Regions from separate parts of the Homo sapiens genome. Here region 2 is linked to region 1. The links are contacts of gene promoters, found by promoter capture Hi-C in human tissues and cell types (Jung and others, 2019). All regions are on one chromosome and are shown on one strand. The core of a region is centred on a gene start or on the middle of the fragment in contact, and the rest is flanking DNA. Distances in the headings are between cores, read along the strand shown.

What was found. The method cuts DNA at HindIII sites, captures the fragments that hold promoters and counts their contacts. A contact is called where the count stands out against the background at its distance.
Region 2: a fragment that was not itself captured here is called in contact with the fragment with the promoter of CRYGA in region 1 in 1 of the 25 tissues and cell types used here (stomach).

The regions. Positions count from the first base shown.
Region 1 is chr2:208,158,860-208,165,335 of GRCh38, reverse strand. CRYGA (crystallin gamma A) reads left to right here and starts at 1,747. Exons shown (of 3, transcript NM_014617.4): 1 at 1,747-1,788; 2 at 1,890-2,132; 3 at 4,260-4,596. The coding sequence starts at 1,780. The coding sequence ends at 4,532. The HindIII fragment of the contact is 14,122 bases long and covers 1-6,279 here.
Region 2 is chr2:209,198,097-209,204,700 of GRCh38, reverse strand. No RefSeq gene overlaps it. Among named protein-coding and RNA genes, the nearest start is that of MAP2, 220 kb to the left of the region's middle. The HindIII fragment of the contact is 7,431 bases long and covers 233-6,604 here.

The DNA.
Region 1 (6,476 bases), core at 498-2,997:
TCTCAGTAGACTATAATGACTACTAGGAGGGAAGATGTTCTGGTCTTTTAGTACCTTTCCAAAATGCTGATTAGGCACATGGCTTAGCCTATCAATGTATGTAATAACAACTTGATCACATGAATGTCAGTACACATAATACATTTCTTAAGGTTTTGGTGTGCCATCTGTCTACAGAACAGTTTTCATCAGCATGTACAAAAACACAGATGGAGATTGTAGACTTTTTCTGAAAATGGTGGTATATTCTCATGTGGGGCTGGGAGACCAATGCAGCGTTTTCCACACTGGGTTTGATTATGGTTCTAAGATTTACCAGTAAGCCTGCAGCTAATTAGGGGGAGGCAAAGGAGGGAATCAGCAACTTGCGGTCCCTGCATGCACTGCTAGGTGTTTAGCTTCATAGGACTTCACCCAGTTTTCTTTTGCCTAGCTCTGCTAGTTATGAGGAAACATTTTTTTCTCGGTAGCTACTGCTGTCTCTCCTTTTACCACCTGCGCGTTTGCCTTACATGCTGCCTGAGGATTTTCACAAATGACATTGTGAATGTGTTGCTAGCTGTGGTCAAATACTCTTTTAGAATCCCTCGGTGGGTCTAAAGCACAAAGGTGTTTGATTTCATCTTCCTACATACATGTGGAATGACAAAAGACAGTCTGGGGTTTGGAGTCTTCCTCCACACTTGCACATCTGAGGAGTACTTCTAAATCAATAAGTTGGCAGCAATGGAGAAGGCTGTTAGGCAGTCACTTGGGTTCAATGAAACAGTGATACTATTGAAAGGAAAAACACAGGCAAATCATCACGCTAATTTTAAAAAATAAAAGCAATGCTAGAAGGAGGGTGGCAGGGGGAGGGGAGTGAAATGTTCCTGTGTATTTTTCTGCTCTTCGAGCCTCTCACAGATTCTCAGGGTTTCTTTTTATTTTTAGCTCAAGAAGTGTTTAATCTCTTGATTAAATATACCTGCTTCCAGTATTTACTGCTTTTCACCAGCACCTCAAAGTCATACATTTAAAGATTGATTTTATTATTTTTTCATCTCATGAAATTGTTATATTTATAATCGAATTTTTTTTTCTGTCTGGCTGAAGATGGCAGATATAATAGAAAATTAAGAAAACAGCAGCAAAAAACAAAATATAACAACATAAAGCTAAGATCTATAATCTTGCCATTCATTGATTACCATGATTGATATGTTGGTATAGTACACACTTCTAATCTTATGTTTTCCCTACATAAATATAGGCAAAATATTTTTATCAAAACCCTATCATACTGATGAAGTCACTTAAGAAATATAATTGTCTTTCAATTAGAGGATTTTCTGTCTGGGATTTTTTTTGTTGCCTCTTCACACTTCAAGTCCTTCTGGAACGCATGTGTTCTCATAAGTGACCTCAGATGGAACCACCAACCTCCATCTCAGCAGTTTCCATAGGCAAACATTGCAGAATGCTGGGCATGTAATGCATTTCTAGTGAGCTGCATAGGATGAGAAGTGTGCCCTTTGTCTCCAAGGTCATAATGGCTCTGCTGACTTTAATACCTTTCACTGGAGCTAGTGAGGACAACTCGAAAATGCCAGAAAGAGAGAGAGCCCACTGCCCCATGATCTCAAATGAAAAAAAAAAGAGAATACAGAAATCCCCCTACGCACCACCCCCAGGTCCCTTTTGTGTTGTTTTTGCCAACACAGCAGCTTCCCTGCTATATATACCAGTTGCCCCTTTGTCCCTATCATACTAGATGCTAATCACCCTCTGTCAACAACCATGGGGAAGGTGAGCCTGTGGAGGTGCTGTGCCATGTCTATTGGGGGTCTGTGGTGTGTGGGGATGTTCCTTCCAGCTGACTGTCTACTGTCACCTTATTTCTACCTCAGATCACCTTCTACGAGGACCGAGACTTTCAGGGTCGCTGCTACAATTGCATCAGTGACTGCCCCAACCTGCGGGTCTACTTCAGCCGCTGCAACTCCATCCGAGTAGACAGCGGCTGCTGGATGCTCTATGAGCGTCCCAATTACCAGGGCCACCAGTACTTCCTGCGCCGAGGCAAGTACCCCGACTATCAGCACTGGATGGGCCTCAGCGACTCGGTCCAATCCTGCCGTATAATTCCTCATGTGAGTCTTGCTTCAACTTGACTGATGTGAAAGCATCAATGATCCATGGCCATCAATTCCTGTTTATAAAAGTCAGTTTGTTCCAACACAGGATGAGTGTTCACAGTAAGAATAGCAAGGCCTGACCCTCAAACATATATAAAAAAAAAAAGTAACAATAATCTCTATTTTTCTTACTTAAGGACATCATTTTAGGGCATGGGAAATCACAACATAGCCTTTAAATTAAACTTGGTAACATCTAGGTGATCCCTAATTTCTACATAAAAGTCACCTTATTCAGTAGTAAAAAAAAAAAAAAAGAAAGAAAGAAAAAAAAGAAAAGTCTATCTAGTTTATCTAGATAATTTTTTTTTTTGAGACAGAACTTCGCTTTCGCTCTTGTTGCCTAGGCTGGAGTGCAATGGCACAATCTCAGCTCACCACAACCCCTGCCTCCCAGGTTCAAGCGATTCTCCCGCCTCAGCCTCCCTTGTAGCTGGGATTACAGGCATGTGCCACCATGCCCAGCTAATTTTGTATTTTTAGTAGAGACAGAGTTTCTCCATGTTGGTCAGGCTGGTCTCGAACTCCCGACCTCGGCCTCCCAAAGTGCTAGGATTATAGGAATGAGCCACTGCGCCCGGCCATGATAATTATTTTTTAATGATGAAAAGTTAACAGACTATGAGATAACAATATAGGTATAATGTATTCTGACTGCATTGGAAATTTTTTTCACTACATTCTAGGACTTACTAGAACCTAGGAAAATATGTTTCAACTTGTGTGGATTTATAATTTCCAGGAGTCATTATCAACTAGTTTCTTATAAATATCAGAGACACACAATTGATTAGGATTTCATAGAACATGGTCCTCATCAAAATGCTGCTTAATCTTTTTTAATCACGTGCAGCATGTATTTACACTTTCTGTTGGCACCAAATTATGTAGTGTGACAAGGAGATTCAAGAATTGAAATCACGGCCAGGCTCAGTGGCTCACGCCCGTAATCCTAGCACTTTGGGAGGCTGAGCTGGGCAGATCACTTGAGGTCAGGAGTTCAAGACCAGCTTGGCCAACATGGTGAAACCCTGTCTCTACCAAAATACAAAACATTAGCCAGGCATGGTGGTGCATGCCTGTAGTCCTAGCTAAGCAGGAGGCTAAGACAGGAGAATTGCTTGAACCCAGGAGTCGGAGGTTGCAGTGAGCCGAGATCATGCCACTGCACTCCAGCCTGGTGACAGAGCGAGACTTCGTCTAAAAAAAAATAAAAAAATAAAAAAACAAATTTAGGCCAGAAAAATTTGCAGATGCGCAAAGAGGTATAAATAAAATAGGCATTTCTCTGGGGCAAGAAACCCAAATGGCACAAGTGACTTGGCAAAATGTCACTTGAAAATACATGTGGACTCAGTGTAAATATAAATCACTGTAAATTATAAGTGCAAAAAGTGACTCAAAAACAAGCTTGATAAGACTCAATTATATGGAGTCAAAATGGAAATGAGAGTTGAAATCCTCACTACAGACTCACTGACTACAATTGTATTGATGATTGCTTACAAAGAACACACTTTTATTCCCTGTATTTTAATGTTTGTTTCTTCCACAACATCTCCAGTTCATTGATCAGGTCAGATTCGTTTTAATATTTTCCCTAATTTGTTAGAATAACAACATTGAAAGTGGGTTCAGGGGAGAAACACTTTATCAACTGGTTTAAAAAACCATGTTTCAAACCAGGTGCAATCCCAACATTTGTAATCCCAACATTTTGGGAGGCCAAGGTGAGAGAATCACTTGAACCCAGGGATTCAAGACCAGCCTGGGCAATATAGTGAGACTCCCTCTCTACAAAAAAATTTTTAAAAATAAATTAGCCGGGTGTCACAGTGCACACCTGTGATCCCAGCTACTTGGGGGGCTGAGGTGGGAGGATTACTTAAGCCCAGGAGGTGAAAGTTGCAGTGAGCAGTGATCCTGCCACTGTACTCCAGCCTGGGCAACACAGCAAGACCTTTATCTCAAAAATAAAATAAAAGCCATGCTTCATGAAGATGCAGACTGATTGTGTCACTTTCGTTGACACCCAAGGATGCATGCTGTTTATTTTTGTTCTTTTGTTTATTGCCATGACAGACCAGCTCGCACAAGTTAAGGCTGTACGAGAGAGATGACTACCGAGGCCTTATGTCTGAGCTCACTGATGACTGCGCCTGTGTTCCAGAACTGTTCCGTCTCCCTGAGATCTATTCCCTCCACGTACTGGAGGGCTGCTGGGTCCTCTATGAAATGCCCAACTACCGGGGGCGGCAGTATCTGCTGAGGCCTGGGGACTACAGAAGGTACCACGACTGGGGGGGTGCAGATGCCAAAGTCGGCTCTTTGAGACGGGTCACCGATTTGTACTAAGCTGTGCCTGCCTTGTTGTGATCCCCATAGAAACATAATAAATATACAAGTTGTGTTCCCTGCACTAAGTGGCTCTTGTTTATCTTTATTTATTTATTTTATAATTTGTTTTGTTATGGAGTCTTGCTCTGTCACCAGGCCAGAGTGCAATGGCGCTATCTCGGCTCACTGCAACCTCCGCCTCCCAGGTTCAATCAATCCTCCTGCCTCAGCCTCCCAAGTAACTGGGATTACAGGCATGCACCACCACACCCGGCTAAGTTTGTAGTTTTAGTAGAGACGGGGTTTCACCGTGTTGGTCGGGCTGGTCTCAAACTCCCGACCTCAGGTGATCCGCCCGCCTCGGCCTCCCAAAGTGCTGGGATTACAGGCGTGAGCCACTGCGCCCAGCTGAAGAGAGGAGCTCTAAAGAGAACTTCCACGTGGAGAAGGGCAAGCCTGCTTCACTAGGCAATCTGGTAGCAAAAGTGTTAAACCAAGAGTTAAACAGCCTACCTCTGCTACTTACTAGTAGAGTAACCAACCCAGCCCAATTTTCCAGGGACTCTCCCAATTTTAGCACTTGAAGTCTTCTATCCCAGAAAGCCCCTCAGTGTCAGGTGAACCCAAATGGTTGGTTACCCCACTTCCTAGCTTATCTCTTTGAGCACGTCACTTTGTACCATCTCTGTGCCTAAATTACCTTACTGAAAACTGTAAGTAATAATAAATTCTTGCTTCACTAAATCCCAGGATAATCACAATGAAATGATGGGAAAAGATTGTGAGCAAATTTTGTTACCTTTAAATTATTATACAAATGTAAGAATTTAATATATCCACAGTGTCTTCTAAAATTCAGTATCACAATGTGGTCACCTTCTGTTGGACTCCAATATGAATTTTTATCAAGACTAAATTACTGAAGACTCTGGCTGGGCACAGTGGCTCACGCCTATAATCCCAGCATTTTGGGAGGCCACAGTGGATGGATTGCTTTAGCCCAGGAGATCAACACTACCAGCCTGGGCGACAACGTGAGACCGTGTCTCTTTTAAAAAAATAATAATAATAAAAATAAAAATAAAGGACTCAACTATATGCAGAGTGAGTGATTAATGTTTGCTATCCTACATATCTCTGTGATTTTTTTCCACTATAATAGAGCTGCACGTTCTTTGTATATGAATTTTACGTTAGTGGAGTTCTTTATGAAACAAAAAGCAAGATGAGATACTACTTCACATTTACTAGGATGGCCATAATCAAAAAGAAAGCTAATAATGTGTTGGTGAGGATGTGAGAAAATTGAAAGTCCCATACATTGTTGGTGGGAAAAAATGTAACAAAAAACAAAGTAAAATGATGTGCTGCTTTGGAAAATAGTCTGGCAGTTCCTCAGAAGGTTAAACATAGCTGGGCGCAGTGGCTTGTGCCTGTAATCCCAGCACTTTGGGAGACCAAGGCAGGCGGATCGCAAGGTCAGAAGATCGAGACCATCCTGGGTAAGACGGTGAAACCCTGTCTCTACTAAAAATACAAAAAAATTAGCCGAGCGTGGTGGTGGGTGCCTGTAGTCCCAGCTACTCAGGAGGCTGAGGCAGGAGAGTTGCTTGAACCCGGGAGGCGGAGCTTGCAGTGAGCCAAGATTGCACCACTGCACTCCAGCCTGGGCGACAGAGCGAGACTCCATCTCAAAAAAAAAAAAAAAAAAAAAAAAAAGGGGGAATTAAGTATCTGTCGGTGCGGTGGCTCATGCCTGTAATCCCAACACTTTGAGAGGCTGAGGAGGGGGAATCATGAGGTCAGGAGTTCAAGACCAGCCATGGCCAACATGGTGAAACCCCGTCTCTACTAAAAATACAAAAAATTAGCCGGGCGTAGTGGCGGGCGCCTGTAATCCCAGCTACTCGGGAAGCTGAGGCAGGAGAGTTGCTTGAACCTGGGAGGTGGAGGTGGCAGTGA
Region 2 (6,604 bases), core at 2,699-5,198, 1.0 Mb before region 1:
TTCTTAATAATTTGTTCACTGTGATTGGCATCTTCTAAATGCTCATCAAATATTAGATGAAGTCTGTATGACTGCAGCTCTAAAGCCTTCAGATTGGCAATTTTTGACTATATTTTTTAGTAAGCTCAGGCTGCCATAATATAATACCACAAACTGAGTGGCTTAAACAGAAATTAATTTTCTCATGGTTCTGGAGGCTTGCAAAGTTCAAGATCAATTGCTAGTAAATTCATTTCCGGTGAAGGCTCTATTTCTGAGTTGCAAATGGCTGGTTTTTATCTGTATTTTCATATGGTAGAGAAAGAGCTCTGGTGCCTCTTCATCTTATTATAAAGGCATCAGCCCTATCTGGTTAGTGTCCCACCATTATAACCTCATTTAACCCTTATCATCTCACAGTTCTTGTCTACAAATACACCCACATTGTGGTTTCAACATATACATTTTGATGGGACACAAACATTCAATCCATAACATTATCAAATAAATGGGTATGAAATTCTTGGTAATGATAAGATACAGATCAGTAGAAAATTAAAATACAGAAAACAAATCAACAAACAACTTTAAATACTTTTTGACTCTATAGTTAGCTGGTAAAATAGGTATAGATCTTAAGTGTAAAATGTCTTTCATGAGAGCCTGTTGCCTCTACTTGATTTACAGCAAATTTGTGCAACCCACAGCTTGCGGTCCGCATGTGGCCCAGGATGGCTTTGAATATGGCCCAACACAAATTTGTAATATTTCTTAAAACATTATGAGTTTTTGGCAATTTTTTTAGCTCATTAGGTTTTGTTAGTGTTAGTATGAGTGGCCCGAGACAATTTTTTTCCAGTGTGGTTCAGGGAAGCCAAAAGTTCGGACACCCCTGATTTACAGTAAATTATGAACTAATGAAAATTTCTTAATAATTGTCACTTGCATTACTTACCATTATACATGTCACTTGCCTTAAGTGGTTAGGTTGGCTCTGTTTTCTATTAGAGAGAGTTTTTGGGTCACTTTTATTTGGTTCATATTTGAACCAATTGAGTGGGCATGAGATATATGTGAGCTTGCACATTTTTCTGCCTACACTACAAAGAATGTAGTTTCTACAGTTTCACAAAGATGCTCACACATATAATGAGTTCCTTGTTGTGGGAAGTCAGGGACCCCGAATGGAGGGACCAGCTGAAGCCATGGCAGAAGAACGTGGATTGTGAAGATTTCATGGACATTTATTAGTTCCCCAAATTAATACTTTTATAATTTCTTATGCCTGTCTTTACTGCAATCTCTGAACATAAATTGTGAAGATTTCATGGACACTTATCACTTCCCTAGTCAATACCCTTGTGACTTCCTATGCCTGTCTTTAATCTCTTAATCCCATCATCTTCCTAAAATGAGGAGGATGTATGTCACCTCAGGACCCTGTGATGATTGCCTGCACAAATTTTTTGTAGAGCATGTGTGTTTGAACAATATGAAATCTGGGCACCTTGAAAAAAGAACAGGATAACAGCAATGTTCAGTGAACAAGAGAGATAACCTTAAACTCTGACTGCCGGTGAGCTGGGTGGAACAGAGCCATATTTCTCTTCTTTCAAAAGCAAATGGGAGAAATATCACTGAATTCTTTTTCTCAGCAAGGAACATCCCTGAGAAAGAGAATGCGTCCCTGAGGGTAGGCCTCTGAAATGGCTGCTTCGTGGGCGGCCATCTTTTATGGTTGCAGCTGTAGGGATGAAATAAGCCCCAGTCTCCCATAGCGCTCCCAGGCTTATTAGGACGAGGAAATTCCCACCTCATAAGTTTTGGTCAGATCGGTTGTCTGCTCTCAAACCCTGTCTCCTGATAAGATGTTATCAATGACAATGCATGCCCGAAACTTCATTAGCAATTCTAATTTTGCCCCGGTCCTGTGGTCCTGTCATCTCGCCCTGCCTCCATTTGCCTTGTGATATTCTATTACCTTGTGAAGCATGTGATCTCTGTGACCCACACCCTATTCGTACACTCCCTCCCCTTTTGAAAATCACTGATAAAAACTTGCTGGTTTTACGGCTCAGGGGGCATCACGGAACCTGCCGACATGTGATGTCTCCCCCGGACACCCAGCTTTTAAATTTCTCTCTTTTGTGCTCTGTCCCTTTATTTCTCAGACTGGCCAACACTTAGGGAAAATGGAAAAGAACTTACGTGAAATATCGGGGGCGAATTTCACCCGATATCTGGCTGAATTTCCCCTGATAGTTCCTAAATGTAACTTCTAGTCTCATCACATATTCTGGCAGTTCATTTCCTGGATGAGTAAAATCTGCAAGACAAATAAGTTTTTAATAGCCTGTGGTCATCATGTACACAAAACTTCAGTTCATTTTTTATATTGACTGATATGGCCTACAGATATCTGAAAGCCTGAAGAAATCTTAAATAGAAAGAATGTTCACAGAACTCTCTGGTACTTTTCCTGCAAGACAAAAAAAAAAGTCTAACAAATGAACTCCAAGTACTTTGTACAGCACCATTACGCACCAGATTGGTAATATTAGTAAAGGAATTAAGTTTATAGGCCTATTGCCTTTGGTACCACACACGGAAGTTGTCATATAACTACTTGTGTCACAAATCCTTGAAAATGTATTATATCTCTTAAGTTACCTGGTGGCTATAATCTTGGCTTTATCCATCTACCTTCTGCCATGGTGCCCATAGAGAGTGCTTTGCTATATGTATGTGGAATGAATGAACTCAATTGTCCTTGCCAATGCAGCAGTTTAATTTGGTCTAGGATGTAGGTAAACAACTGGCTAAAGGATTTTCCTCATGTAAAGTTCTTTTTTACCTATGTCTTCTAATTTTCAAAACAACAGATATCTATTAACTAATATTAAAATACTTATAATAGTTTTATAACATTGTTTTTATTATTAATTTATGCTTAAATGTACCTTCAAATAAAAATAAGCATTTATATTTGCTGTCCCATAAAATCAGTACCTTTCCTTTCATGAATGCTGGTTTATGAGGATTCCCTTCCTCCAAAAATTGCTAGTTGATGGGGTACTTTGATCTAAAATGAAAGCCTAAACCAGAGCATTTTAAAATCAGTCTTCTGAATTTCAACAAAGAAAATATTGTAAATTTAAAATAACAATTATTTTCAAAATTTCTGGGCATCGTAAAAAATAATTTTAAAATATTATTAAAAATTTGAATGGAAATTTGCTTTCTTCAAAAAAAGTTGTAAGTTTAAAAGCGGCAAAGCCTCAAGAATTTAAACATTACCTTCCAAAGCTCAAGACCATCTTCAGAATGCATATATAACACATTTTCAGTGAAAAATAGGTTGATAAAATCTCATTTTGAAGAAGATATTCTAAAGGCCATCTCGTCTGCCTTCTTATTCTGAGCTCCAAGAAGGTTGGGACCAAATCTGTTTTGTTCCAGATTATGTCTCCAATGCCTAGTATAACAACCTTCCACAACCGTTAATACTTATTAGAGTAACTACATTTCAAGCATTGTTCTGGGTGCTGAGGATAAAGTGGTTAGCCAAAGCAGACATAGCCTCTCTTCTCATGGAGTTTTAGGCTAGTGTGTGAGACTGACCTTAACCAAATGTTACCTGTACTGAGAATCTGTGTTTTTCCTGTCCAGCCATTATTACCCTAGGATGTCCCCCGATTTAGTTTTGGGCATCTACTCTGATTCCATGGATAGGGTCTTGGCGGATCTGTCAAACAAAGTGCCTTCTCTTTCCCTTCCCTGAAAATGAGAATATGACTCAAGGTAAGCCACTCAGAACCACTCTTCCTGGAATTTTCATTTTGAAAAAACATGGTAATATTGAAGCTTTAAAATAATAGGGTATTAACATAATAATAAAGTCCCGAAGGAGCTGCTTCCTAGAAGTGTTAATAAGCTAGGGAAGCGTAAGAATGAGCTGGAAGAGAGGGAAGTAGAACACTTCAGGCAGAAGCATGTACAAATATCCTATGGCAGTAGGGAGAATAGAGATAAAAAGATCTGTAAGGTGAGTGTTGTAGAAGCCCTAAGAGCCATAGGGAACCTGGTGCAAAATGAGGCTGAAGGGAAGGGTATGGGGCCAGAATTTGAGGCCCTGTAGGCCACTTAAACATGTTTGATTTTTTTATCTAAAAGCAACAAGACTTTGGAGTGTTTCAAACAAAGGAGGTGAGGGGAGCCAATGTACATATCCAAAAATGTTCTTCCAGTATATGGAGTGTAAATGTTCAGAAGGCAATAATATAAACTGGAGCCAACTTTATTGAGGGCAGGCTATGCTCCAGGCACTATTCAAAAAGATTTGCAAATAATAATTCACTTACGCCTCATAACAGCACTGTGAGGTAAGCAGTATTATCATCTACATTTTTAAATTCACTTATGCCTCATGACAGTACTATTAGGTAAGTAGTATTATCATCTACATTTTTAAATTCACTTACGCCTCGTAACAGCACTATGAGGTAAGTAGTATTATCATCTACATTTTACGGAGAAAGAATCTGAAGCCCAGAGGTTACTGAATTTGCCAAAATTCTCTACACCAATATGTAATAGAGCCAGTATTTGAACTCAAACAATCTGACTTCAGATCCTGACTTCATAATTATAAACACTAAAAAATATGTATAGTCTTATTTGAGGTTATTATTGCTATTATAATTGGCATTTTTATAACCTATGAAATTTTAAAAATTGTCATAAAATAAGCCTAGCATAATATTTAACATTTTAACCATTTTCAAGTGTATAGATTAGTGGGATAAGAACATACATATTGCTGTGCAACTATCACCATCATTCATCTCCAGAATATTTTTCTTCTTCCAAAATTGAGATTTTTTGCCCATTACATAACAACTCCTCATTCTCCTCTTCCTCCAGACCCTGGAAACCACCATTCTACTTTTTGGTTCTATGATTTTGACTATTCTAAGTACTAAGTAAGTAGAATCATGCAGTATTTGTCTTTTTGTGACTAGTTTGTTTCACTTAGCATAATACCTGGAAGGTTCATTCATGCTGTAGAATATGTCAGAGTATCCTTCCTTTTTAAGGCTGTATAGTATTCCATTTCATATCCATACTACATTTTGCTTATTCTTCCATCTACCCCTGAATACTTGGGTTGCTTCCACATTTTAGCTATTGTGAGTAATGCTAAACATGAACATGAGTGTGCAAATGTCTCTTTGAGACCCTGCTTTCAATTCTTTTGAGTATATACCCATAAGTTGAATTGCTAGATCAAATGGTGGTTCTATTTATAATTTATTGAGAAACTGCCATACTGTTTTCGACAGCAGCACCACCATTTACATTCCCACTATGGCGCATCAGGGTTTCAAGTCCTTTACATTTTGCCAACAGTTATCTTCTGTTTTTTGATAGTAGCCATCCTAATGAGTGTGAGGTAGTGTTTCATTGCAGTTTTTGTTTGCATTACCGTAATGATTAGTGATGTTAATCACCTTTACATGTACTTATTGGGCATGTGTATATCTTTTGCATCAGGTGGCTTTTGTTGTCACTGAGTTTTAGAAGTTCTTTATATATACGGCTATTAATTCCTTGTCATATATATGATTTGCAAATAGTTGATCCCATTCTTTCAGTTGCCTTTTCACTCTATTGATAATGCCCTTTGATGCATAAAAGTCTTTAATTTTCACAAAGTCCAATTTGTCTTATTTTTTCTTCTGTTGCCTGTGCCTTTAGTGTCATATTGAAGAAATCATTGCTGAATCCAATGTCATATAACTTTTGCCCTGTGTTTCTTTCTGAGTGTTTTATAGTTTTCATTCTTAGATTTAAGTCTATAATTCATTTTAAGTTAAATTTTGTATATGGTGTTAGGTAAACATCCACCTTCATTTTTTTGCATGTAGATATCCAGTTTTCCCAGCACCATCAGACTGTCCTTTTCTCATTGAAAGGTCTTGACACTCTTCTTGGCAATATATACAAGGGTTTATTTCTGGGCTCATTATTATATTCCAGTGTTCTGTATATCTGTCTTGATGCCAGTACTACATTGTTTTGATTACTGGAGCCTTGTAGTAAGTTTTGAAATCAGGAAGTGTGGGTTCTCCAAATTTGCTCTTTCTTTTTTCATGGTTGTTTTGGCTATTCATAGATCTTTCAGATTACATATAAATTTAAGGATGGATTTTTTATTTCTGTGAAAAACATCATTGGGATTTTCATAGGAATTGCATTGAATTTGTAGGTTTTTGGGGGGCTAGTATTGATATTTTAACAAGATTAAGTCCTCCATCCCATGAACATGAGGTGTCCTTTTATTTATGTCTTCTTCAACTTTTTTCAGCAATGTTTTTTAGTTTTTATTGTCCACGTCTTTACTTCTTTGGTTAATTCCTGACTTTTTATTCCTTTTGATGCTATTATAAATGGAATTGTTTTAATAATTTCCTTTTTAGATTGCTCATTGTTAGTATACAGAAATGAAACTAATTCTTGTGTTCACTTTGTATCCTGCTACTTTGCTAAATTTGCTTAGTAGTTCTAATAGTTTTTTGTAGAGTCTTTAGGGTTTTCTATGTATAAGATTATATAATTTGTGAAC